Linked DNA regions of Homo sapiens: regions 1 and 3 are each linked to region 2. Evidence: promoter capture Hi-C in 16 types of primary human blood cells and fetal thymus (Javierre and others, 2016). All regions are on one chromosome and are shown on one strand. Each heading gives the region's core, a stretch centred on a gene start or on the middle of the fragment in contact. The rest is flanking DNA. Distances are from core to core; before and after follow the strand shown.

Evidence for each region. Contacts are between HindIII fragments. The CHiCAGO score rates a contact against its expected background, and 5 or more counts as called.
Region 1: a fragment that was not itself captured here is called in contact with the fragment with the promoter of HERC5 in region 2 in 16 of 17 cell types (megakaryocytes, naive CD4 T cells, M2 macrophages and 13 more); the score reaches 12.8 in megakaryocytes.
Region 3: a contact is called between a fragment that was not itself captured here and the fragment with the promoter of HERC5 in region 2, in 2 of 17 cell types (total CD8 T cells and total B cells). The highest score is 6.4, in total CD8 T cells.

The regions. Positions count from the first base shown.
Region 1 is chr4:88,218,699-88,221,513 of GRCh38, reverse strand. It overlaps a transcript of ABCG2 not described here. Among named protein-coding and RNA genes, the nearest start is that of ABCG2, 61 kb to the right of the region's middle. The HindIII fragment of the contact is 1,573 bases long and covers 605-2,177 here.
Region 2 is chr4:88,455,666-88,458,544 of GRCh38, reverse strand. HERC5 (HECT and RLD domain containing E3 ubiquitin protein ligase 5) reads right to left here and starts at 1,426. Exons shown (of 23, transcript NM_016323.4): 1 at 1,011-1,426. The coding sequence starts at 1,275. The region is part of intron 1 of LOC102723458 (a long non-coding RNA gene); the gene reads left to right. RefSeq lists an enhancer at 1,367-1,796. The HindIII fragment of the contact is 3,677 bases long and covers 1-2,879 here.
Region 3 is chr4:88,238,841-88,241,634 of GRCh38, reverse strand. No RefSeq gene overlaps it. Among named protein-coding and RNA genes, the nearest start is that of PPM1K, 44 kb to the left of the region's middle. The HindIII fragment of the contact is 4,762 bases long and covers 1-2,794 here.

The DNA.
Region 1 (2,815 bases), core at 142-2,641, 240 kb after region 2:
AAGCCGTCCAAATCTCTAGGAAATTCCAAACTTTCCCACATTTTCCTGTCTTCTTCTGAGCCCTCCAAACTGTTCCAGTCTCTGCCTGTTACCCAGTTCCAAAGTCGTTTCTACATTTTTGGGTATCCTTATAGCAGCAACCCACTCTCTGCGGTACCAATTTACTGTATTAGTCCGTTCTCATGCTGCTATGAAAAAATACCCGAGACTGAGTAGTTTATTTTTATTTTATTTATGTATTTATTTTGAGACACAGTTTCATTCTTGCCTAGGCCGGAGTGCAGTGGCATGATCTCAGCTCACTACAACCTCTGCCTCCCAGGTTCAAGCGATTCTTGTACCTCAGCCTCCCTAGTAGCTGGGATTACAGGTCCACACTAACACACCTGTCTAATTTTTGTATTATTAGTAGAGATGGAGTTTCACCATGTTGGCCAATCTGATCTTGAACTCCTGACCTCAAGTGATCCGCCCACCTTGGCCTCCCAAAGTGCTTGGATTACAGGCTTGAGCCACTGTACCCAGCCAGAGACTGGGTAATTTATAAACGGAAGAGGTTTAATGGACTCACAGTTCTACAGGGCTGGAGAAGCCTCAGGAAGCTTACAATCATGGCAGAAGGGGAAGCAAACATGTCCTTCTTCACATGGTATCAGGAAGGAGAAGTGCTGAGCAAAGAGGGGTGGGAAAGTGCCTTATAAAACCATCAGATCTCATGAGAACTTACCATCACAAGAACAGCATGAGGGTAACCACCCGCATGATTCAATTACCTCCCACCAGGTCCTTCCCATGACACATGGGGATTATGGAAACTACAATTCAAGATGAGATTTGGGTAGGGACATAGCCAAACCATATCACTGGTCTACCGTTCTCTGTCAGTCTACAGGAGGCAAAGCAAGGCTGACAGAAGGATGCTCCTTCAGGAGGAAGCAGCAGTAAAAGCACTTTGAATCAAGATAAATGGGAAGCCACCCCAATAAACACATTTTAGATATTTTAGAAAAAGAAAGAAATACACACACAAATTGAAAATAACAATTGTTGGCAAGAATGTGGAGAGATTGGAACTCTTGTGCACTGTTGGTGGAATGTAAAATGGTGTAGCTACTGTGGAGAACAGTATGGTGCTTCCTCAAAAAACTAACCATAGAATTACCATACAATCCCACAATTCCACTTCTAGATATATACCCAAAAGAACTGAAAGCAGAGGCTCAGACAGATGTTTATACACAGCAGCATTATTTACAACAGCCAAAAGTGGAAGCAACCCTAATGTTCATCAACTGTTGAATGAATAAACAAAATGTGGTATACACAGAGAATGGAGGATTATGCAGCCTCAAAAGGGATGAAAATTCTGACTGCAGCATGAATGAACCTTGAAGACATTATGCTAAGAGAAATAAGGACAAATACTACATGATTCCACTTATATTAGGTAGTGAGGGTAGTCAAATTCATAGAGACAGAAAGTAGAATGGTTGCCACTGAGGACAGGGTGGAGTGAAGAGTTGTTTAATGGGCAAGAAGTTTCAGTTTGGAAGATGAAAGAAGTTCTAGAGATGGATGGTAGTGATGGTTGCACAGCAATGAATATACTTAATGCCATAAAACAGTACACTTAAAAACTATTTGAGCCTGTAATCCCAGCACTTTGGGAGGCCGAGGCGGGTGGATCACGAGGTCAGGAGATCGAGACCATCCTGGCTAACATGGTGAAACCCCATCTCTACTAAAAATACAAAAAAAAAAAAAAATAGCCAGGCGTGGCACTGTGCGCCTGTAGTCCCAGCTGCTGGGGAGGCTGAGACAGGAGAATGGCGTGAACCTGGGAGGCGGAGCTTGCAGTGAGCGGAGATCGCGCCATTGCACTCCAGCCTGGGTGACAGAGCAAGACTCGGTCTCAAAAAAAAAAAAAAAAAAAAAAATTTGAATGGTACATTTTTATATTATGAATATTTTACCACAGTAGAAGAAAATAAAACAACTCTACCCTCAGGTATTTGCATGTCTGCCTCCTACTTATTCTTCACTTTTCTGCTGAAATAGCATGTCCTCAGGGAAGCCTCTCCTATTGCTCTATGTAATTTCCTTGTAGAACATATCACTGTCTGAAATTACCTTTTTTATACGTGCTATCATCTGTCTTCTCCATTGGAATATAAGCTTTTCGAGCATAAGATCTTTGCTTTATTCAAAGCTGTATCCTAACACTTCGTTTTTGTCACATGGTAGCTATTCAGTGAATACTTGCGGAACAGTGTACTGAGAAAAAAGAAAGGGCTCCACCTGGAGGTTGTGTTAGTAAATGTACTTTGTGGGAATTTTAAATGTACAATACTCAAAAGTAAAAATCAAACTGAACATTTAACTTCAAAGCAGTATTAGCCGTGATAGTGGAGTGAGAAGTCATGAAGAAAAGTGTACAAGCACCTCTGTGTAAAATATTTCCCTTTTCACATCAACTCCCTGCTTAGGTTCCCAATTCCCAGGACCTCAGCAGTTCCCGTATTTCCTTTCTATGTATCGCCTGTTCATTTACCTACCGTCAATGGCTGCTTTGGTGCTACAATGCCAATATAGAGTGATTGGAAAAAGACTGCATGGCCCACAAGCCTAAAATATTCACTATCTGGCCTTTTACAGAAAAAGTTTACCAACCAACCAATGATGTAGGTAAAGATAATAGACTAGAGATATTGTCTACTCTTCTCTGAGAACTTTCATGATAGTCATTCAAGTCAATCAAGAAATGTTTATTGGGATTGGAGACTATTATTCTAAGTAACTCAGGAATGGAAAACTG
Region 2 (2,879 bases), core at 177-2,676:
TTTCAAATCAGTTGAAAAAAAGGAAGTATTAAGAAATGGTATTGGGACATAGGCTAAGCCTTTGGAAAAGCAAATAAATCTAGCTCCCCTCCTACCTCAGTACTGAAAATTCCAAGCGTACGAAAAATTTTAACTTAAAAAAAAAAACCTTAAAATTACTACAAAAATGAGTACATTTTTTAAAACACTGGGAGTGTGGATAGCTTTCCAGCCTAACATAAAACCCATAAGCCTTAACAGACAAAAAAATTGACAGACTACCCCCCAAAAAATGCACTAAAAACAACATGCACAAAAGGCAAAGTGAGAAAAATATTACATGTACGACGTGCAAAAGGCTATTCTTATTCAATATTCAAATACCTCTTCCATACAAATAAGAAAAAGATTTAACAACTCAAATTTCTAAAAGCCAGGCAAAGATAAACAGGCAATTTACCGAAAAAGGAACGCAAACGTCCAGTAGTTAAACGCAAAATAAACTCGCAGCAAGATACCAATTTCTTCACTCCACAGATGGGCAAAATTTTAAAGAACGCGGGCAACTATTTCCCCCACTTCGATGAGAATGTGGGAGAAGTGCAACTGAAGGCCAAGGTAAAATCCCATCACTGAGAACGACTCCCAAAGTTGGAGCAGTGACTACTTTCTCAAAACGAGACAGTGGGAGATGCGGCGGGCGGGGGACGGGGGTACAAACTTGAACAGAAACCTATGAGAAAGCCAGACTGGCTAAAAGGATGAAGACGGTGCCCGCATGCCCCGCACCGGCCACTTTGCTGAGCGGAGGATCCGCTGGTCGCCAGTATCCCGCTCACCCCGCGCCTGACACTGACCGGGATAAAAGACAGCTCAGGTGCGCCGTCGGCGAAACTATCCGAGCCAGGCGCGCGTCTGCGGCCTTCTGGGCTCTCCTCCCTCAGGCGCGGACCCCCGGCTGCCCGCCCCTCACAGCCCTCAGCCCTCACCCCTCACAGCCCTCACAGCCCTCACACACCAGCCCCACTCACTCGGCGTCCGGGCGCCGCCGCTCCCGGCGAGCAGCTGGTGAACCTGGACGCCCGCCCCGCCGCGTTCCAAGACCGCGAGGCGCCCCGGCGAGCAGCAGAGTTGGCGCGTCACCTCCACCCTCCGGAGCAGCGCGCGGTGGAGGCCCGCGGCGCTGGGAAAGAGCCAGAGCTGTGCGCCCGGAGACTTCGCGGGCTGGGTCGCGGCGGCCTTGCCCGCGGTCGAGCGCCCGTTGCGCCGCGACTTCCTCCGCGACCTCCGCTCCATCGCCGCTTTGCGGGGTCCCAGGCCCAGAGGCGAGAGGAGAGAACGCCTGGTCCCGGGACTGAGCGCGCCCACTGCCTCAGGCGTTGCGCTGCAGAGCGGGAACCAGCTGCGCGCAGCTGCGTGGCGTCGGGGAACCGCAGCCTCAGCTACTGAGCCCCTGCCGGGACGCCACGCCCCCCACGTGCTGTTTGGGGGCGGGGCCTGCAGCTCCAGTGGAAAACGAAACATAATGTTTGTTGTTGTTTTTAGGGGGCGGAATCGAAAAGGAAAAGGAAACTGTAATGAGAGTGACTTGGCAGGCGGCCAAAGGCAACAGGTCGTTGGCTGGGGTAAAGGCCGATGGGCTGGACTGAGAAAGTGTCCCCGGGCGGGCAGCGGCCACCTTAACTCCTGGACGGAATGGCTTTCGAGGAAACGCTGCAGTTCCACTAGGAGGCACCCTGACACACGCATTTCCAGAGGGAGGGATAACGGAAGCCAAAGTTTGTTAAGCGTTGTGCGCCGCGGCCGGGCGCGGTGATTCACGCCTGTAATCCCAGCACTTTGGGGGGCCGAGGCGGGCGGATCACGACGTCAGGAGATCGAGACCATTCTGGCTAACACGGTGAAACCCCGTCTCTACTAAAAATACAAAAACAAAATTAGCTGGGCGTGGTGGCGGGCGCCTGTAGTCCCAGCTACTCGGGAGGCTGAGGTGGGAGAATGGCGGGAACCCGGGAGGCGGAGTTTGCAGTGAGCCGAGATTGCGCCACTGCACTCCAGCCTGGGCGACAGAGCGAGACTATGTATCAAAAAAAAAAATGCGTTGTGCGCCGGGCTGAAACCGGCATAAAACTGGGCAGAGCTATGCAGGCAGCTACCCTCCCCCCCACCCCTACCCCCACCCCCACCCCCCTCGTGCCCGCTCCGCTACGTATTCCCGTATTCCCGGGTGCCTGGCAACAGTGATGTGCTTTAGGCCTTTTTTAGAATGCATACAAACGGAACCATATCTAAGTGATGTCTGGCTTTTTTAACTTAGCACAATGCTTTGAGATTCATACTATTGTGTTTAATTAGTAATTCATTTGTGTTATTGTTGAATGGTAGTCTATCATATGGGTAAGCCACAGTTTATTTATCCATTCACCAATTGATGGGCCTGTCGGTTGTAGGGAACAGGAGAAAACTTCCCCTTTGCCCTCTGAAGGGTCACCGAAAATCAACTGACAAGGCTGGGCCTGGGCTCCTGCCTGTAACCCCAGCCCTTTTTTAGCCCAAGGCAGGAGGATCTCTTCTTTGTGAAGTGTGTATTCAAATCTTTTGACCATTTATTTATTAGCTAGCTTGACTTTTTATCTAAGAGTTCTTTATATATTATTGAGTTCTTTATATGTTTCATACCATGTTCTTTATTAGCTATACGTTTTGAAATGTTTTCTACCTGTCTGTGGCTTGCCTCTTCATTTTAAGTGTCTTTTGAAGCACTGAAGTTTTCAATTTTGATGTAATTTATCCATTTTTTTCTTTTACATAGTTCATACCTTTTTTGTCCTACTTAAGACATTTTTGCTAAATTCAAGATTATAAGATTTCCTCATTTGTTACCTTCTGGAAGTTTTATA
Region 3 (2,794 bases), core at 117-2,616, 220 kb after region 2:
CCAGCTACTAGGGAAGCTGAGGTGGGAGGATTGCTTGAGGCTAGGAGTTTGAGACCAGCCTGAGCAACATAGCAAAACCCCATTTCTGGGGGGAAAAAGAATAATCTCACACATATTTCAAATGTATGTAGATTTATGTTGTGTGATTAAAATATGTTTATTTTAAAGAGTTATCTATGTTGTTATTGGCATTTTGTACTTTCTCTTCCGGGATACTTAAAGTGCAAATACTACCATGAGGAAAGAGGGAGTCTTACCAAATGAAAAAATGATCCTCATATTTACAAAACCCTGGCCAGGTGCATTGGCTCATGCCTGTAATATCAGCACTTTGGGAAGCTGAGGTGGAAAGATTGCTTTAGCCCAGGAGTTTGGGACCAGCCTGGCCAACATGAGACCCCATCTGTATAAAAAATGTCAAACATTTAAAAAACTAGCCAGGCATGGTGGTGCAAACCTGTGGTCCCTGCTACTTGGGAGGCTGAGGTGTGCTTGAGCTCCGGAGGTTGAAGCTGCAGTGAGCTGTGATAATGCCACAGCACTTTAGCATGGACAACAGAGTGAAACCCCATTTTTTAAAAAACAAAAAAAAAAATCAGAGAGAGAGGGCAGAGCAATATGGGTGAATAGAAGGCTCCACTGATTGTCCCCAGAGAGGAACACCAAATTTAATAACTATCTATACATAAAAAGCATCTTTCTTCAGGCAAGGCAGTCATGAAAGAAATAATATAAAATAAAGCACCTTCCTAAGAATGAAAAATCAGGTGAGCACTCACAGTGCCTGGTTTTAACTTCATATTGCTGACAGAGGCACTGAAGAGGGCAAGAAAGACAGTCTTGAATTGCTGATGGCACCCCACCCCTATCCTCTGGCGATGGCCGTAGGTGCAGAGAGAGAATCTGTGCACTTGGGAGAGGGACAGTGCAGTGATTGTGAGAGGCATTGAACTCAAAGCTGCCCTGTCACAACAGAAAGCAAAACTGGGCTGAACTCAAATGATGCCTGCCCATTGAGGGAGCACTGAGACTAGCCCTAGCCAGAGGGGAATGGCCCATCCCAACAGTCAGAACTTGAGTTCCAGCAAGTCTCATCATTATGACCTAAAATGCTCTGGGGCCCTAAATAAACTTGAAAGGCAGTTTAGGCAATAAGGACTGCAACTCCTACACAAGTCTTAGTGCTGAGTTGGGCGTGTAGCCAGTGGACATGAGGGACATGTGACCTACTGAGACACCAGCCAGGGCAACTACAGGAGTGCTTGCACTACCCCTCCCAAAACACCAGGCAGCACAGCCCTCAGCTGCAAAGGAGAAGCCTTACTTCTGCTTGAGGAGAGGAGAGGAAAGAGTAAAGAGGAATTTGTCTTGCAACTTGGATACCAACTCAGCCGCAGTAGGATAGGGCACTAGTCAGGGTCATTAGGCCCCCATTCCAGGCCCTAGTTCCCAGACAGTATTTCTAGACATACCTTAGGCCAGAAGGGAATCCACTGCCTTGAAAGGAAGGACCTATCCTGGGAGGAATCATCACCTGCTGATTAAAGAGACCTTGGGCCCTGAATAATCAGCAGCAGCACCCAGGCAGTACTTGCCATGGGCCTTGGGTAAGACTCAGAGATATGCTGGCTTTAGATGTGAACCAGCACAGTCCCAGCTATGGTGGCTATGGTGAGAGACTCCTTTTGCTTGAAAAAAGCTGAGGGAAAAGTAAAGAGGACTTGATCTTGCACCTTAGGTACCAGCTCAGCAACAGTGGGGTAGAGTAACAAGTGGGCTCTTGGGGCCCCTAATTAGAGGCCTTGGCTCTTAGATGGAATTTCTAAGCCTTCCCTGGGCCAGAAGGTGGACCATTTCCCTGAAGAGTGAGTCCCAGACCTGGCAGCCTTCAGCATAAGCTGACTGAAGAGCCCTTGGGCCTTAGTGAACCTCGGTGGTAGCCCGGCAGCACTCCCCTTGGGCCTGTGGAGGTGATGGCCATGGGTGAGTTTCCTCTGCCTGTAGAAAGGTGAGGAAAGCGTAGAAATAACTGTGTCACATAACTTGTGTGCTAGCTCAGCTGTGGTAGAATAGAGCACCAGGTAGATTACTAAGATTTTTGACTCTAGTCCCTAGTTCATGGATGGCATCTCTGGAAAAGAATAGGGTCTAGGGGAACTTGCTGCCCTGAAGAGAAGGACACAAATCTCGCTGGCTTTACCACCTGCTGATTGCAGAGCCCTAGGGCCTCGAGTGAACATAGGCAGTAGCCAGGTACTGGTTACAACAGGCCTTGGGTGAGACTCAGTGCTGTGCCAGCTTCAGGTCTGTCCCAACTCAGTCCCAGTGGTGGTGGCCACAGGGGTGCTTGTGTCACCCCACCCCCAGCTCCAGACAGCTCATCACAGAAAGACAGACTCCATTTGCTTGGAAGAAAGTAAGGAAAGAAACAAGAATCTGCCTGGTAATCCAGAGAATTATTCCAAATATTATTCAAGATTATCAAGGCAGTACCTCTATGAGTCTGGAAGAACCATAGTGTTACTGGGCTTGAGATGCCCCCTAATGTAGATATGTCTTAGATCTCAACACCCAAGTCTTTTTAAATGCCTGGAAAGAGTGCAGAGACTACCATAGATATCTGACTCTTCAATGCCCAAACGCCAATGAACATCCACAAGCATCAAGACCTTCCAGGAAAACATGACCTCACCAAATGAACTAAATAAGGGAACAGGGAACAATCCTGGAGAAGCAGAGATATATGACCTTTCAGACAGATAATTCAAAATAGCTGTTTGGGGGAATGCAAAGA